Regions from separate parts of the Homo sapiens genome. Here region 1 is linked to region 2. The links are contacts of gene promoters, found by promoter capture Hi-C in blood cells and fetal thymus (Javierre and others, 2016). All regions are on one chromosome and are shown on one strand. Each heading gives the region's core, a stretch centred on a gene start or on the middle of the fragment in contact. The rest is flanking DNA. Distances are from core to core; before and after follow the strand shown. Region 1 overlaps PPIL3 (peptidylprolyl isomerase like 3). Region 2 holds the start of HSPD1 (heat shock protein family D (Hsp60) member 1).

Region 1 (6,139 bases), core at 155-2,654, 3.4 Mb after region 2:
TACGGATACAGATTCGCTGCTAGTAAAAAGCACCTCAGTTTAGTGGAAGATATAAATGGTGACAAGAGGATAGCTGTAAGCTAACTCCAAACTAGTCAAGAAAGAATCAAAACATTAATTAGACCAGCCATTGGAAGAAATGAGACAAACCAAGAACTGATGCCAAGACAAACATTTTGAGACGGAGTTTTGCTCTTGTCACCCAGGCTGGAGTCCAACGGCACGATCTCAGCTCACCGCAACCGCCGCCTCCCGGGGTTCAAACAATTCTCCTGCCTCAGCCTCCCGAGTAGCTGGGATTATAGGCATGTGCCACCACGCCCAGCTAATTTTGTATTTTTAATAGAGACAGGTTTTCTGTATGTTGGTCAGGCTGGTCTCGAACTCCCAACCTCAGGTGATCTGCCCGCCTTGGCCTCCCAAAGGGCTGGAATTACAGGCATGAGCCACTACGCTCGGCTGGTATAAGTTTTAGGAACACCCAAATCCAACCACTGTGATCTAGGCAGTGGGCAGAATATGGTCTTGATGAAATCAGTGGTAGAACCCAATGAATGGCTTGATGAGGTGAGAGCCCTGTGGTGGACATGAATGTTAGGACAGCAGCTTCTACTTACTTACTACATGCCAGAAGCTTTACACACATTTAACCCTCACAATTGTCTTCTGAGGTATTATTTATGGATGAGAATACTAAAGCTTGAAGATGTTAACTTGCTTAAAGTTACACTGTAAGGGACACAGCTGTGATTCAAACACAGACCAGAACTCCACAAACTGGTGCCTTTAACTAGTTCATTGCATTTTTCAAATGGATATTCTGTAAAGCTCCACTCTTCAATATTTTCAGAGATATGCCTTATGTTCTCACTTGTAATATAACCAAGTATCCTAGCCTTGAAATGCATTTTAAAGTTTTTTTTTTCCTTTTTTTTTTGAGACAGAAGTCTCTGTTTCCACGCTGGAGTGCAGTGGTGCAATCTCGGCTCACTGCGACCTCTGCCTCCCAGGTTCAAGCAATTCTCCTGCCTCAGCCTCTCAAGTAGCTGGGACTACAGGCGCGTGCCACCACGGCCAGCTAATTTTTGTATTTTTAGTAGAGACGGGGTTTCACCATGTTGGCCAGGATGGTCTCGATCTCTTGACCTCATGATCCGCCTGCCTCAGCCTCCCAAAGTGCTGGGATTACAGGCGTGAGCCACCGTGCCTGGCCCTTTCTTTCTTAATTTCAGAATGTAGTCTTGTTAAAACCGTTTCCCTCCCTTTCCCGCCTCACACTCCCTTATACTATGCACATTTATCTAACTGTACACTTGTTAAACTTACACTATACACTCTTATCTATAGGGTCTTAACTCTCTTGCCCAGGCTGGAGTCCAGTGGCACGACCATGGATCACTGCAGTCTCTACTTCCCTAGCTCAAGCAATCCTCCCACCTCAGCCTTTTAAGTAGCTGGGGCTACCACATCCGGCTTTTTTTTTTTTTTTTTTTTTTTTTCAATTTTTAGTAGATTCAAGGTCTCACTACGTTGCCCAGGCCGATCTAAAACTCCTGGGCTCAGGTGATCCTCCCACCTTGGCCTCCCCAAAGTGCTGCGATTATAGGTGTGAGCCACTGTGCCTGGCCCATCAAGGGCTAATCATGACATATACCAGGCTTGGAGACCCAGCTGCAAAATTCCAGAGATTACCTTAAGGTGGTTAGTCAACAACCCAGCCATTGTTGAGATGATGCCAGCCCCCACTCCAGGTGGACCACAACTCAAGATAGCCACTACAGCAAGCCACAGAGATCTGAAACCCTGCACCACTCCCGCATGCCTCCCATTCTAAGTTCCCTTTTTAAGCACCTCTCCCCAGCCTAAAGTTCAAAATGATTTCTTTAAGGTACTAGCTTTGGCCATTTCCCCACTGCTAGCTCTGGAATAAAGTCACTTTCCTTTTCCTGCATCTCCTCCTTGTTGTTGACTTTGCAAGTGGCGTGCAGCCCAGCCTGCATTCAGTTACAATAAATGGGAGCTAAATCTTGGATTCACATGGACAAAAAGATGGGAACAGTGGACACTGGGGACTCCAAAAAAGGAGGAAGGGGCAGGGGCAAGGGCTGAAAAGCTTCCTTTTGGGCACTATGTTCACTGTCTGGGTGACAGGATCAGTAGAAGCCCAAACCTCAGCACCATGCATTATACACTTGTAACAAACCTGCACATGTACCTGCTGAATCTAAAATTAAAAAAAAAAAAGATATGCCTTAAAAAATGTCCATGAGCAGGCCGGGTGTGGTGGCTCACGCCTGTAATCCCAGCACTTTGGGCGGCCAAGGTGGACGGATCACCTGAGGTCAGGAGCTCACGACCAGCCTGGCCAACATGGTGAAACCCTGTCTCTACTAAAAACACAAAAAAACAATAGCTAGGCATGGTGGCAGATGCCTGTAATCCCAGCTACTCGGGAGGCTGAGGCAGGAGAATCACTTGAGCCCGGGAGGCGGAGGTTGCAGTGAGACGAGATTGTGCCATTGCACTCCAGCCTGAGTGACAAGAGTGAGACTATGTCTCAAAAAAAAAAAAAAAAGTCCATGAGCAAATCAGTTGGGAAATGTTGAGTGTTTACTGTATTCCAAGACATCTTTTTTTTTTTTTTTTTTTTGAGATGGAGTCTCCCACTGTCACCCAGGCTGGAGTGCAATGGCTCGATCTTGGCTCACTACAACCTCTGCCTCCCGGGTTCAAGTGATTCTCCTGCCTCAGCCTCCCAAGTAGCTGGGACTACAGGCACCCGCCACCATGCCCAGCTAATTTTTTATATTTTTAGTAGAGACAGGGTTTCACCATGTTAGCCAGGATGGTCTTGATCTCCTGATCTCGTGATCTGCCCATCTTGGCCTCCCAAAGTGCTGGGATTATAGGCGTCAGCCACCACACTCGGCCTCCAGGACCTCTGAGAGCCTTTACTGTAAACCTAAAGATCACACCTGTAATCCCAGCACTTTGGGAGGCCGAGGTGGGCAGATCATGAGGTCAAAAGATCAAGACCATCCTGGCCAACATGGTCTCTGTAAACCCCGTCTCTACTGAAAAAAAAAATACAAAAAGTAGCTGGGCATGGTGGTGTGCACCTGTAGTCCCAGCTACTTGGGAGGCTGAGGCAGGAGAATCACTTGAACCTGGGAGGCAGGGGTTGCAGTGACCCGCTGCACTCCAGCCCGGGTAAAAGAGCAAGACTCCGTCTCAAAAAGAAAAAAAAAAAAATCAGAGAAAATAGCAAATGGATTGGCTGGCCTTTCCAGACTAACTTTTTATCCTGTCCCTCCTCTTTCTAACTGTATAAAGTGAATAATTAATGGTAGAGCTCTTACCGTTAGTATCAGTTTCAGGAATACCCAAATTTTCAGATTTGGGGATACTTGCATATACATAATAAGATATCTTGGAGATGAGACCCAAATTTAAACATGAAGTTCATTTACGTTTCATATATACCTTATACACATAGCCTGAAGGTAATTTTACACAATATTTTAATTAATTTGTCCTACGATTTAATTCTTTAAAACTTTTTAAATTTTATTATAAAATAACACTTCCAGGATACGGACTTGCTGTGGGAGGAATATGTAATCAGGCCACTCAAAAATGCCTGCACTTGAGGCTGAGCATTTAAAAATGAATGTTCATATGTAACAAAAATTAAATGATGTATTTTTTGTATTAAAATTAAAGAAATATGTTGGATAATCATTATAATAAAGAATATGCTCTAAGAATGGGGATAAAAGCTGTTGGGCGCCCCTTGGTACCACCATTTCATAGAAGATCATAGTTGTAAACAAGCAGAAGGATGATGCAATCTCTGACATAATTAAAACCGGGTAAACCACAATAAGTGTGTTCCAGCAATTTGTCAAGTTATTTGTCCAGGTCTATCATAGCTACTGAGCAAATGGGTTGGCATGAATAGTTATGTCCTTAATGTGTACATCATTAAGAGGTCGGTATGTCTTCTCATTTACTGGCAACTTCTCCAACTCATCTAGAGTTTCCAGACCATCTATTACCCTGAAAGAGAAACAACATAACATATGAAAATTTCCTTAAATTGAAACATGATATCCATATCTATGACAATTACAGTCTCCTTAAAAAATAATCAAGTCTTACAGATCTCTGAGTTCTCTAGTTGAATGTACAACAAAATGTTGATTTTCCATCATAGATATGGATCAAAATTCAGAAATAATTTACTTTTATGCCCTTAGTCAACAATACAAAGGGTAGGAATATTTCCACCATAGTACCTAAAATTATATTCTACCCCATTCATACAGTGACAGAGAACAGCTACAAATGGGACTAATATAACCAGTTAAAGGGAAAACAAACTGTTTTTCTACACTTTCATACTTCCAACACCAAATGTGTGGGTTTTCCCAGTTCTCCAATTCTCTGGGTATCCCACAACTTGATTATTTTTTCAAAATTTTATTTAATTTTTTAAAGACAGGATCTCACTGGGACTACAAATGCATGCCCCCACACCTGGCCCTATAATTTAATTGTGACACTAACTACAAGGAGTGAACAGAGACCCCGGTTAATCCCACAAGACAGCCCCTACCACTTCGGATGCCAGTTCCAAGTCCCGATTGTGATCTGTACTATCTGACTAACCATGATATAATTTGGGATTTTTCATGCCCCCCAGCTCTGTTCAATAATTTTCAAAAATGGCTCATAGAACTTAGGAAAGCACTTTATTTATTACTATGGGCTATTATAAAGGTTACAACTCAGGAACAACCAAATGGAGGAGATGCATAGGGCAAAGTCTGAGAGAGGGGCACAGCGCTTCCATGCTCTTCTCGGGGTGTGTTACCCTCTTAGTATCTACTTGTGTTCACCAACCTGGAAGCTCTCAAACCCTGTTTAGGGTTTTTACGGAGGGCACATTAGGTAGGCACGATTAATTAAATCACTGGCCACTAGTGACTGGAACTCAATCTCCAGCCCTTCTCTCCTTCCCAGAGGTCAAGAATAGGAGGTCACTGAATGTTCCACCCCTCTAAAAATACATGGCTGATTCCTCTGGCAACCAGCCCTCCATACTGAAGCTATCTAGAACCCCACCAAGAGTCACCTCATTAGCATAAACTCAGGTATGGTTGAATGGGGTTTATTATGAACAATAAAATATTCCTTTCACTCCTGTCACTCAGGAAATTGCAAGGTTTTTAAAAGAACTATGCTGGAAACCACGGATGAAGTCCAAATATGTATGTCTTATTACAACACACTAGTCATAAAGATTTCTTTGCTACAGGAAATACATGGAGAAAGTATGTAGATGACACTATTAGCAATACTGCCCTACAATGAGAGTCCTAAAGTAGGTGACCACTCCACTTTGTACTTGTTTTTTTTTTTTTTGAGATGAAGTCTCGCTCTGGTCCCCCAGACTGGAGTGCAATGGTGTGATCTCGGCTCACTGCAACCTCTCCTCCTGGGTTCAAGCAATTCTCCTGCCTCAGCCTCCCAAGTAGCTGGGATTATAGGAGCCTACCACCACGCCTGGCTAATTTTTGTATTTTTAGTAGAGACGGAGTTTCAGCATGTTGGCCAGGCTGGTCTGGCCTGACCTCAGGTGATCCGCCCGCCTTGGCCTCCCAAAGTGTTGGGATTCAGGCATGAGCCACCAAGCCCAGCAGTTAATTGTTTAATTATAGTATTTCTTTCTTTTTTTTTTTTTTTGAGATGGAGTCTCACTTCCATTGCCCAGGTTGGAGTGCAGTAGCACTATCTCGACTCATTGTAGCCTCTTCCTTCAGGTTCAAGCAATTCTGCATCAGCCTCCCAAGCAGCTGGGACTACAGGCACATGCCCCCATGCCCAGCTAATTTTTGTGTTTTTAGTAGAGATGGGATTTCACCACATTGGCCAGGCTGGTCTCAAACTCTTGACCTCAAGTGATCTGCCCACGTCAGCCTCCCAAAGTGCTGGGGTTATAGGCATGAGCCACCACGTCTGGCCTAATTATGGCATTTCTACTTTTTGCTTCTGGATAACAACAAGAAGTAATAAAAATAGGAGAAGAGAAGACTGACAGTTAACAGCCTCCAGCAATCCCACTTCATGTTACCAC
Region 2 (5,748 bases), core at 3,249-5,748:
TTCAGCAATTACAGCATCAACAGCTAACATCACACCTAGTTCAACGATATATGTCATTACAATGTTTATTTCTCTCATGGCTTCTATGTCAAGTAGAAATCTTGAGATTTGTGACAAATATTTTAATGCCTTAACTTAAAAAAAAAAATTTTTTTTTTTTTTGAGACAGGGTCTTGTTCTGCTGCCCAGGCTAGAGTGCAGTAGCACAGATCATGGCTCACTGCAGCCCTGACATCCTGGGCTCAAGGGAGTAGCTGAGACCACAGGCTCAAGCCACCATGCTCAGCTTCTTTTATTTTTGTAGACAAGGTCTCACTATGTTGCCCAAGGTGGTCTTGAACTCCTGGGCTCAAGCAATCCTCCCACCTCAGCTTCCCATGTAGCTGGGACTACAGGCATGTACCTATGCTTGGTCTTTAGTGCCTTAATATTAAATTTACACACAGCTTCTGAGACAGTGCTTCTTAATAACACAGAGTTGCGTGGCATGTACTTAAACAGTAACTTTAGGTTCACACAGTAAATAAAATCTCACAATGCCAAAATTTTGAAAATAGGACTAAAACAAGGTAGATGTGTGTAGTTTCAAAAGTCTCACCACTGAACTCATCCTATGCAAATTCCTAACCCAATCATGCTGTTTCCAATAGGGTCCACGACACTTCTCATGTCCATTAGATGATGCAAAAAAGGACCAAAATGGCTAACACTCCCTTATTTTCAACAAGAAGTACAGTTCTTAAATGATAGGAATCTGTTGTGACTATGCCTCTGCAGGTGTCAATTATCTGAAATCCCCTCAATTTAGTACGTATTATGAACTAACAAAATATTTTTGTTTTACATCAGTCTTAATAGTCCCATTTTGCTCAATTGGGAATAGTGCTAGCTCTCTTGTTTGAGAACTGTTACTTCAAAAAAAATCCAATGCAAGGTGCTGGTAAGTCCTCTTCATAACCTTAATTAATACTTGTTAGTGATTTACAGTAAAACTGCTTTTAGTGAAGTATATTCACTTGGCCCATAAACACTGAAATAGATGAGGTAATGATACATTAGTAATGTAGTAATAAATTAGTATGCCAATTCTGACAAAAAATTACCAATAGCTCCCCCCACCTTCACTTACAAGAGGGTTCCTGGTTTGAACCCTAACATACCCTAGATATACATAGCAATTCTGCTGATAGGAAAACCAAGTCTTAGCACACAGCTAATAAATGACAAACATGGGACTAGAATTTAAGTCTATACTGCCATGAACCTCATGAGGAGGAGCAAATTGTTAATTAAGTTGCACTCTAGTTACAAGCACTAACAAAACACAAACCAATAACATGGTGTGTGCTATTAAGAAAAAATAAACTGAGGAAAACATTACTTTCTGACATTCTGAATGATCCAGTGTATTTAGTCTTACTTTCTACAAAACTAAACTAAAAATTAGCCAGGAATGGTGGTGAGTGCCTGTAGTAGTCCCAGCTACTTGGAGGCTGAGGCAGGAGGATTGCTTGAGCCCAGGAGTTCCAGTGCAGTCCAGCCTGGGCTACAGAGCAAGACCCTGTCTCTAAAAACAAAAGAAACCAACTAAGTAAAATATCAAAATTACCTAACAGTACCTACCCACCATACAGCCAAGCTTGCTAAAGGAAAACCCAGTTTAAGATTTCTCCAGGCCAAGAGGAGGAATGAGAGAAGGATTAATTTCCTCAAGTTAACACTTTCCTTAGGTCCAAGGAATCAATGCCTTAAAGCACACTGAAGTTTAGAACACTGTGGTGACAACAGACATTCCTACCTCTCCTGATTTCCACTGGATTAGCACCTTTGCTAATCTTCTCGAAGCCTTCCTTGGCTATAGAGCGTGCCAGTACAGTAGCAGTGGTAGTGCCATCCCCAGCTTCTTCATTTGTGTTATTGGCAACATCTTGAACAAGTTTAGCTCCAATGTTTTTGTATTTATCTTTTAAGTCAATTGACTTTGCAACAGTCACACCATCTTTTGTTACTTTGGGACTTCCCCAACTCTGCTCAATAATCACTGTTCTTCCCTAGAAGAAAAAAATGTAACAGGATCAGACATACCCTAAGGATGATTTACATTTTTAAAAATGAGCAGTCTTCATAATAAAGCAACTACTTCAAAGTCTCAACGTAAGTTGTGTCATTTTTATCAGTCTTGCAGCATGAACCTCAAGGGCAAGTTTATCGACATTCTTTGTCTACAGACAAAATGACCTGATTCTCTGCCAAGAGCATAATTTTGAACTAGGTAATTTAGGAGATTAAAATCCTAGGGACTAAAACTTGTCATCTTATAAAATGAACAAGAACACAAGACAAAGAATAAAACAATCTTCCTATCACTTATACTTTAGTTAGTGCCTGTTATCTTTTAAAGTAATGTGACTTGTTTTAAAATCCGTTTAACTAAAATATTAACCATCAAGGCAAGTAGCGTGCTCTTCCAGGTTCACGCAACATAAAACTTCAACCATGGCACAATTATTGGCCATCCTTTGGATTTGAACTAAAGCTGCTACTTTCTATTTGTGAGGTGTGCAAATGTTGTATTTTAGGCAGTTGTTGGATCACTTGATATCTGAACTGTCTTCAAACTGAAATGAAGCACCACTTGACTGCACACCACCTTCAAAGGCCTCCTCAAAACATTACCCCTATTAAATGAGACTTATTTTAAATATGCTTTGGAACAAGAGAACAGCAGAAAACCGATGGGTAAAACTAGCATCTTGGGGTGGAGGAGAGAATGGGAAGCTACTGTCTAATGAGTACAAAGTTACAATTTTTCCATATAAAAAGTTTTGGAGATGGATGGTGGTGATGACTGCACAACATAAATGTAATTGATGTCCCCAAAGTGCACACTTAATGGTAATTTTATGTTGTGTACATTTTACTACAATAAACCAAAAAAAAATTTAGCATCTACAAGCACATACCTAAGGAATTATGGAAGATAAGTTAAACTCTTCTCTCTACACTTGGCATGAACTACTGGGAAAGGATCCAAATTTTAACTTAAGCCAGCGAAATTCTACCTCGAGTTTAAGAATCCACCTTGAGCTGTAAGTTACTACCTGATTACATCACACATTGAACAAAATAGTTTCGAAAATCTGGCTGAAGCAGTTTAAGCTTTAAGATCATGTCTAAGAAAAAAAGGCTAACCAATACTTCAGAATTCTTACATGTAAACTGAGTTCTCTCAAAAATGGAGATGAAAGTACTGTTGAATAGTTCAGTGCGACTATTTGTGAGTAAAATGCTATTAATAATACCGTAATTACAATAAAATAAAAATACTGGTACCTTTGGCCCCATTGTAACGGCCACAGCATCGGCTAAAAGGTCTACACCTTGAAGCATTAAGGCTCGGGCATCTGCACCAAATTTTACATCTTTGGCATAAGCCCGAGTGAGATGAGGAGCCAGTACCCTGGACACCGGTCTCATCTGGCGAAAGACTGTGGGTAACCGAAGCATTTCTGGGGATGGAAGCAAAAAGATCATCAGAACTACCACCCGTGGTGCGCTGCAGAACAAACATGCCCACCTGTGCAACAGAGCAAGCAACGTGAGATGCTGAGCCTGGCTGACCTCCGCCAGCCACTACGCCTGAATGACGGAAGGCGCCGCAGCTTCGGAACATCAGCCACTAGCGCAAGCTAAAGAGGCCGCCCCGGCCGGCGCCTGACCTATAGCACCAGCACAAAGCACATGCGGCTCCTTCCCCACGGCCACCTATCCCTGCCGCCAAAAACGAGTTAATCTTTCACCGCGAAAACGGCCTTGTGGGCAGACCCACTCCAACTGTGGCCCCTGAGAAACCAAGTCAGCCGGAGAGAGGCAAGTTACAAATCCAAGTGACCAGGGAAGTTAAAAGTATTCCTGACGGTGCAAAAAGCCGCTCAGCAAAGTGTCTCCATGGATCCACCCAAGGCTACTGTATCAGAGCAACCAGCAAGGCCGCGATGCTGGGGGCGGCGGCCCGGCCCACTCGGCGCGAGCCCACGTGTCCTTCTTTCCGAACGCCCCCAGCAAGGTCAAGACTGGAGGCGCGGTATCCCAGCTGCCTGCGGGGGAAAAAAGCGGTTCCCTCACGTACACCACCCTCCCCGGTTCCCTGAAGTCGGCCAGGCGCAGGTTGCACCAGCGGGCCTAAGTGGTTACAATCCCCCAAATTCAAACCCCACGAGTTGTCCCTCCCGCGCCCAGCCGAGGTCCAGGATCCGCGTCGCACGTGATGGAACCCGCATGGACCCGCGAGGCCTGGACCCGCAGGCCTGGGCCTGCGGTGCGGCGCGGTGCGGAACTCCAGGTTGTCGCCGCCCGCACCCTCCAGCTGGACCGCAGAGGAGGAAGGCCCACTCGGGGGTCGCAGGAGCCGGGGGGAGGTGGTGCGGGAAGGCCGCGTACCTGCGGGGCGGCGGCAAGGCGTGCGCTCGGCGAGACAGGTCGTCGGCGGCGAGTGAGGGACAGAGTGCAGGGCGCACACCGCAATGAGCCCGTGTCCCCTCCCTCCGCCTCTACTCCCGCCCCGCGGCACCGCGTGTGCAGGCAGCTCCCACCCACTTCCCGTCAGCCCGGGCCCTGCAATCTGCACACCCTGCGCGCGAGCCCCGCCCCTCCCTACCCGCGCAGGGTGTGCTAGCGCGCTCAGCCCTCTCCGGCCGGCTTAGTCTAGTTCCCGGGCCTCGCTCGGTTCCAGAACTTTCCAGAAAATGCCGCGCTCCCTACGGCTCAAGGGTCAAATCGCGTCATTTCCGGGAGGGGACGAAGGGGTAGTTCTTTCACCTCGGCTGGGCGCCTAGAAAAGCCTAGAAACAGCTCCTTTTTTCTTCCGCCTCCGAGTCTTCGCGTCAGCGTCCTGCGCAGGGCCCTTGGGGCGAATCGCGGTGCGCGTCGGGGCGACCGCCCTCCCTCCCTGGGAGGGGCGAGGGGGCTAGCGGCGACCGCTGGGGCGAGCGCGCCTGCGCGCTGGGTGATTTTTTCACGTGTCGCCAGGGCCGGACTGCGAGTCTCTTTGCGGCGCTACACTAGAGCAGAGTACGAGTCTGAGGCGGAGGGAGTAATGGTGAGTCCCGCGTGGCCCCGAGGCCTGCAGGCCCGGGCCTGTCTGAGGCGTACGGGGATCCCTGACGCCCCTCTTTTGTTGGGCTGGGCGGGAGGGATTGGTGGCCACTCAGTGACCAGCGCCCGATGGCACCTTGGAGCGGCAAGGCCCGCCCGACCCTTTTCTCCCCCAGGGCTCTTTGCACGCGCGTGTGCTGCCGGTGTGTAAGGCAGGGGGGCGAGAACCCGGGCGCACGCGCAGCGTCTCACCTGCTTCTGCAGGGCCTTTGTGGATGTGTAATATCTTGGGTAAAAATCATGGTGCCAGGCAGGGAGCTTGACCCAGCGTTTCCTGAAAATTTCTGGAAAAACCTGAAGAAGGAAAACATTTGACCTTGGAATAAACTAAGGTTGACCTTAAAGCTGGTCTGGTTGCTCACCGGAGGAGCGACAACGACCCCTAACAGACGTAAGGAATCGGGAATTAAACTTGGAATATTGGTTAGTACATTCAAATGCGCTTCCTTAACGAATAAGCTGAGGTTTGGTGTTAACTTTCAAAGCCAAAACGTGTTGAGATGTATAGCACGGTGGCGTTGCCTGTTGATAATGTGATTACATTTAGTTTTTGTTTCAAAACATTTCTCTTCCTACAGGCAGGACAAGCGTTTA

The links. The method cuts DNA at HindIII sites, captures the fragments that hold promoters and counts their contacts. A CHiCAGO score of 5 or more calls a contact.
Region 1: a contact is called between a fragment that was not itself captured here and the fragment with the promoter of HSPD1 in region 2, in 1 of 17 cell types (erythroblasts). The highest score is 5.4, in erythroblasts.

What each region holds. Positions count from the first base shown.
Region 1 is chr2:200,867,463-200,873,601 of GRCh38, forward strand. PPIL3 (peptidylprolyl isomerase like 3) reads right to left here. Exons shown (of 7, transcript NM_130906.3): 7 at 3,445-4,059. The coding sequence ends at 3,933. Among named protein-coding and RNA genes, the nearest start is that of CLK1, 5.9 kb to the left of the region's middle. The HindIII fragment of the contact is 1,414 bases long and covers 698-2,111 here.
Region 2 is chr2:197,495,342-197,501,089 of GRCh38, forward strand. HSPD1 (heat shock protein family D (Hsp60) member 1) reads right to left here and starts at 4,499. Exons shown (of 12, transcript NM_002156.5): 1 at 4,441-4,499; 2 at 3,334-3,509; 3 at 1,799-2,051; 4 at 1-35. The coding sequence starts at 3,507. HSPE1-MOB4 (HSPE1-MOB4 readthrough) reads left to right here and starts at 5,038. Exons shown (of 9, transcript NM_001202485.2): 1 at 5,038-5,098; 2 at 5,733-5,748. The coding sequence starts at 5,096. It overlaps HSPE1 (heat shock protein family E (Hsp10) member 1), which reads left to right and starts at 5,038. Exons shown (of 4, transcript NM_002157.3): 1 at 5,038-5,098; 2 at 5,733-5,748. The coding sequence starts at 5,096. RefSeq lists silencers at 4,379-4,708, 4,899-4,958 and an enhancer at 5,099-5,158. The HindIII fragment of the contact is 3,758 bases long and covers 3,158-5,748 here.